Regions from separate parts of the Homo sapiens genome. Here region 2 is linked to region 1. The links are contacts of gene promoters, found by promoter capture Hi-C in blood cells and fetal thymus (Javierre and others, 2016). All regions are on one chromosome and are shown on one strand. The core of a region is centred on a gene start or on the middle of the fragment in contact, and the rest is flanking DNA. Distances in the headings are between cores, read along the strand shown. Region 1 holds the start of LTC4S (leukotriene C4 synthase). Region 2 overlaps MAML1 (mastermind like transcriptional coactivator 1).

Evidence for each region. Contacts are between HindIII fragments. The CHiCAGO score rates a contact against its expected background, and 5 or more counts as called.
Region 2: a fragment that was not itself captured here is called in contact with the fragment with the promoter of LTC4S in region 1 in 2 of 17 cell types (monocytes and M0 macrophages); the score reaches 6.9 in monocytes.

What each region holds. Positions count from the first base shown.
Region 1 is chr5:179,792,570-179,795,568 of GRCh38, forward strand. It overlaps LTC4S (leukotriene C4 synthase), which reads left to right and starts at 1,417. Exons shown (of 5, transcript NM_145867.2): 1 at 1,417-1,569. The coding sequence starts at 1,512. RefSeq lists enhancers at 605-1,232, 807-886, 907-1,056, 2,540-2,999 and a silencer at 1,407-1,476. The HindIII fragment of the contact is 38,202 bases long and covers 1-2,999 here.
Region 2 is chr5:179,739,650-179,742,648 of GRCh38, forward strand. All of the region lies in intron 1 of MAML1 (mastermind like transcriptional coactivator 1), which reads left to right. Among named protein-coding and RNA genes, the nearest start is that of MAML1, 8.3 kb to the left of the region's middle. The HindIII fragment of the contact is 1,073 bases long and covers 1,008-2,080 here.

The sequences.
Region 1 (2,999 bases), core at 167-2,666:
AAGATGACTGTCACAGCTTGGTCTAAAGCAGGGGCCGGGCCTGAGCCCTGGCCCCTGCCCTGGAGGAGCTCACAGAGCCCCCAGCTGGGGCATATCTGGTTTCCGGGGGCAGGGGCGATACCCAGAGGAGGAAGAAGGGATTCTGAGAGAGCCCAACAGGCTCCGAGCCTCAGGCTGGAGCTGAGCTTGGGGCAGCAAGGAAGGACCAGGTGCGAGGGCAGAACCATGCGGCCCGACCCCTGCAGCACGGCCTGTGGCCTCCCCCAGCTCCTGCCCGTGCTTCTGGGTCAGTCTGGACTTTGCCACTTCTGACCAAAAGCCACCGCAAACCCACTCAAGCCAAAAGAGGAAGTGACCGTTAGGCCCAACTGGGAAGGCTGGCGGCCAGGGGCACTCCAGGCAGGGCGAGGGGGGCGGCCGGGGGCGCTCCAGGCGGGGCGAGGGAGACACCCAGAACTCCAGGCAGGAGTCCTCGGGTGCCACCTTTCCTCTCCACCTGGCCCTGCGTGGGCTCTGTCCTCAGGGTGGCCCGCCGTAGTCCCCCTCCCCACTCTGAGTTTCCTGTCCCAAAGTCCTAAGGAAGTTTCCAGAACTACATCTCACCATCTTGAGTCAGCCTTGGCTCAGTGTCCATCTCACAGGCCTGGAAGGGGCAGGAGTCAGCACTGTCCAGACCACAGGGCCTGAGTGTGGGGAGGGCAGCCGTCTAGGAAGGTGGTGGAGGGTTGTTACCTTGAGGCAAGAGGGCTGCGGGGCAGAAAGACACAGCAGGTGACTGTTGTGGGAGGCCCAAGAGAGGCCTGGGAGAGGGATGGCCCACAAGGGCTGACCCTCCCGCCACCCAGGGGGCCTTGGACAGGTTTCCTCCTGGCAGGGTGGCCCTTGTGCATGGAACCCCTACAACGACTAAGGCTGGCAGGCATGAGGTTTCCTGAAGGAGAAAGAGCTTGTGGGGCCCAGTGTGGCTGGGGGGGCGCTGGGACTCCATTCTGAAGCCAAAGGCACTGGGAAGGGCTTCCGCAGAGGAGGGTTTGGCAGGGGTTGCCAGGAACAGCCTGGATGGGGACAGGGAACAGATAAGGTGGGTGGAGGAGTTAGCCGGGAGCCTGGGGCTGGCTCCAGCATGATGTGGGGGTCTGCAAGGCCCTGGAGAAAGTGGGGTGGTGCAGCAGGGGGCACACCCACAGCTGGAGCTGACCCAGATGGACAGCTTGGGCTCTGCCACGCGGGACTAGGCAAGGAAGGGGCACGAACAAGCAGGAAGTGGTGAGGCGGTCTCCAGCTAGCTGCTCTCCCCTGCCCAGACTTTGGTTTCCTCCCTGCTGGCTTGGCCTGGCTCCCTGGCTCTGTGTGGTATGGTCACACCCCCGTGCACCCCCTCCACTGAGATGGGGCGGGGAGAGCACCGAGGCTGCTCTTCCTCTCCTGGGCCGTCCTCTGAGCAGCAGACGGGGCTAAGCGTTCCCCAGCTCGCCTTCACACACAGCCCGTGCCACCACACCGACGGTACCATGAAGGACGAGGTAGCTCTACTGGCTGCTGTCACCCTCCTGGGAGTCCTGCTGCAAGGTGGGCTGGTTCCTATCTAGGAAGAGGGTGGGCCTTAGATCCCTACAGCTTGCCCTCTGCCCCCTAGGCCCAGGTGGAGGGCAGAGGTGGGGACTCCAGCCCAGGCCCAAGCTGGAAGAGGGTGGGGACTTTCAGGGAACTGGGGGGCACCTGGCTGTGAGAGCTGTAGGACTTGGGGGTGGCAAGGGTGCCAGGACAAATGGTAGGATAGCCATGGGCTTGGGGAAGCTGATCTCTGCTCTTTCCAGCTGTCCCCTCTCTGGGCGTCCCAGCAAGCGGCCCCCATTCCCTGGCTCTGCTTCAAAGGCACCTCCATACTGGGACCACGTGGAGCAGGGTAGAGGTGGGACTCCTTCCTCCAGCCCCCTAAAAAGAGCCTGCTTAATGCCTTTCTCAGACTGGCCCTAAAGGACACATTCCTTGGCCAGATATCCTTGCCACCTAAGAGACACCACTACTCCACAGTGTGTGGGCTAGGATAAGGCACAGCCTGGGGAGGGGGCTCTGAAGGGGCTGAACAGACAGGCCAGCCTGACCTCCAGCTGCTCCTGCACTGAGCTGGATGGCCACCCTGTGACACCCATCTGCAGAGGGCCCAGAACCAAAGGTGCCAGGGCTGCAGGACTCAGGGGGAGATGGTCCGACGGGAGGTCTGGGGAGGGAGCGCACAGCCAGCACTGGTCTGTGTGTGGTCTGGCCTGGCCTCACCTGACCAAGAGAAGGGCTCCTGCCCACAGAGAAACTTTAGGGCCAGCCCACCCTCTGCAACTACCCCAGCCCTGGGGTCCTGGGGTTAGGCTAGGAGAGTCCCAGCTGCAACCTCCTGGGAGCAGGAGAGAAGGTGTCTGTCAGATTTAGGCCTGGGACCGGAATGCAGGAACAGAGAAACTGAGGTTTGGAGGCACAGGGACGCAGGCTTTAGTGATCCCGGCCTGAGGCAGGGTCAGAGGGCCCTGCTGGTGGGCGCTGGTAGGTGGGTGACCAGGGACTGTTAGCTACAGGGAGTGTGCTTCCTTGCACCTGGGAGGATGCAGCCAGCTCTGCCCTCAGACTCCCGAGGCACTTCCTGGCCAGGGACCTGAAAGCTGCATTTGCCTGTGTTTTGAGAGTGAAATGATTCAGAAACAAGGACTCAAGTGGTCTCTCTCGCGGAGCAGGTGTCCCTGTGCCTGAATCACTCACCCTCCCCCATACACTCACAGGTTGGGACAGGGCCTCTCTGCGCCCCAGGCTTCAGCCCTGCCCTCCTCGCTGAATGTCAGGGACACAGGGCAGGCCAGGGATGGGTGAGACGAGAGGTCTCCTCGGGCGGGGAGGGGGCGGGGTTCCGCCTTAGGGAGGAGAGGACACGGCCAAGTGAAGGGCCAGATTGCAGGATCCCTCCCACTCCCATCTCTGGGGCTTCGGGTGTCCAGACCTGACTCCCGCTC
Region 2 (2,999 bases), core at 294-2,793, 53 kb before region 1:
CCTTAGCCCCTGGGTGACATCCAAACCCTGCATCAAAAATAAATAAAAAATAAAAATATGACAACATTTACATAGCATTTCTATCATACGAAGTATTGTAAGTAATCTAGAGGTGATTTAAAGTATCCTGGAAGATGTGTATATATTATTGCAAATACTAGGCCATTTTATGTAAGGGACTTGAGCATCCTTGGATTTTGGTGTCCCGGCGAGGCTGGGCAGGGGTCTTAGAACCAATTCCCCATGGACACCAAGGGAACTGCTGTGTACAGTAGCGAATAGGACAAATTAAAATTCTGCTGTCATGGAGAAAGAGGAGGTCAATATTTTTGTTAACTTTGTTATAATAAGTGCTAAGCAAAAATTAAAAGCAGAGTCATGTGATACTAAATGACAGTCGTAGCTTAAGATGCCTTGATTTGAGCTTGATGATTGAGAGGCTGTCAGTCAGCTGAAAGTCTTAGAACATTCCAGTTAGAGAGAACCACCAGTACCAAGTGTCTGAGTTAGGACCCTTCTGAGCTGGCATGAAGAACAGAAAGCAGGCCAGTGTGTCTGGAGCAGCGTGGCACCTAGGACCAGATCAAGTGCAGTAGGAAGCAGTAGCAGGATAGGGAGCAGAAACATGATATGATCCAACTTAGGTTTTTTTGCTCTGCTGACCAGTCTGGAGTGCAGGGGCGCAATCTCAGCTCACTACAAGCTCCGCCTCCCGGGTTCACGCCATTTTCCTGCCTCAGCCTCCCAAGTAGCTGGGACTACAGGTGCCCGCCACCACACCCGGCTAATTTTTTTGTATTTTTTTTTTTAGTAGAGACGGGTTTCACCGTGTTAGCCAGGATGGTCTCTATCTCCTGACCTCGTGATCCGCCCATCTCGGCCTCCTAAAGTGCTGGGATTACAGGTGTGAGCCACTGTGCCCGGCCGATCTTTAAGTTTTGGAAGATGGTTCTGGTGCTAGGTGGAGGATGCCTGGGGTTGGTGTGGATAGGAGTGGATGCATATAAAGCTTTTGTAGCTCTCTAGATGCCAGGGCTGGGGCTGGTGGTAGCAGTGGAGATGGAGAAGAGGAGATGGGTTTTGGACAGTTCCTGAGGGCAGAGGTGACAGGACTGGGTTGCTGGACTAGATGGCTTTGTTTTGCGGGCAGGAGAGGGGAGTATTCAAGGGAAATTCCTAGTTTTATGGCTTGAGAAACTTTCTTTGCACTTTAAAAATATTAGTGTTCTCTAGGCAACTATATCCCTGGCCATTTTCACTCTTTTTTTCCCCTGGGTGATGTTATTGATTCTTTCATAGCTTCATTTGTCACCTGTAATAATACTCTTCAAATCCCCAGTCCAGATCTGTCTTCCAGATTTCAAATCCACATTTCCAGCTGTCTGCTGGACATTTTCATCTTTCCAGGATATATTTCCCACATATCCAAAATGGACTTTCCCTTTTTCCTACCAAATCATATGTTCCTTCTAAGTATTTTCCCTAACCCAGTCATCCAGAGTAAAAACCTGGGAATTTTCCACTCCTTTTCCACAATTCCCAGCGTTCAGTTGGTGGTTCTTTCAACCAACATTGAAGTCCTGCTGGAGCCAGGAATCGTGGTAGATGGTGAACCTGTATCGCGGAGCCTAAGTGGGAGCAGATGATACACAGGTCATTGCAAAGCCGAGTTCAGGGCTAAAGCCTGTGAGAATATTGAGGAAGGGGGATGCCTTTTTGGTGAAGTTTGGAAGGCTTTAAAGAATTGACTCTTGGCCAGGCGTGGTGGCTCACGCCTGTAATCCCAGCACTTTGAGAGGCTGAGGTGGGCGGATCACTTGAGATCAGGAGTTCAAGGGCAGCCTGGCCAAAATGGTGAAACCCCGTCTCTGGTAAAAAATACAAAAATTAGCCGGGCACGGTAGCATACACCTGTAATCCCAGTTACTCAGGAGGCTGAGGCAGGATAATCACTTGAACCCAGGAGGTCGAGGTTGTCGTGAGCTGAGATTGTGACATCGTACTACAGCCTGGGTGGCAGAGCGAGACTGTCTCAAAAAAAAAAAAAAAAAAAAAGAATTTACTTTTAAGGTGGATCTTAAGCTTTAGCCAGATGCTTTCCCCAGAGGTGTTCCATGGAACACTAATTTCATGGGCTGTTGAAAGTTACAGTGGAACACATTTGAGGAACACTGGGCTAAACAATTCTTTTTCCCTCTGAGCATCTGCACATATTGGCTAAACAAATGTATTTTATTTTTTAAATTTGTTTTATTGATTTATTTTTTGAGACAGAGTCTCCGTCTGTCGCCAGGCTGGAGTGCAGTGGGGTGATCTCGGCTCACTGCAACCTCCACCTCCTGGGTTCAAGCAATTTTCCCACCTCAGCCTCCCAAGTAGCTGAGGCTAATTTTTTGTATTTTTAGTAGAGACGGGGTTTCACCATGTTTGCCAGATTGGTCTCGAACTCCTGACCTCAGGTGATCCACCCGCCTCGGTCTCCCAAAGTGCCGGGATTACAGGCGTGAGCCACCGCACCTGGCCAACAAACTTAATTTGCTTTATTAAGAACATTTTTGGCCAGGCACGGTGGCTCATGCCTGTAATCCCAGCACTTTGGGAGGCCAAGGCGGGTGGATCATCTGAGGTCAGGAGTTTGAGACCAGTCTGGCCAATATGGTGAAACCTCATCTCTACTAAAAATACAAAAATTAGCCGGACGTGGTGGTACGTGCCTGTAATCCCAGCTACTCAGGAGGCTGAGGCAGGGGAATCCCTAGAACCTGGGCACCGGAGGTTGCAGTGAGCCGAGATCGTGACACTGCACTCCAGCCCAGGCGACAGAGTGAGATTCCATCTCAAAATAAATAATAAAAAAAAAACCAACATTTTTGCCACATTCAGTGTCTGACACCAGTAATCCCAGCATTTTGAGAGGCTGAGGTGGGTGGATCATTTGAAATCAGGAGTTCGAGACCAGCCTGGCCAACATGGTGAAACCCTGTCCCTACTAAAAAAAT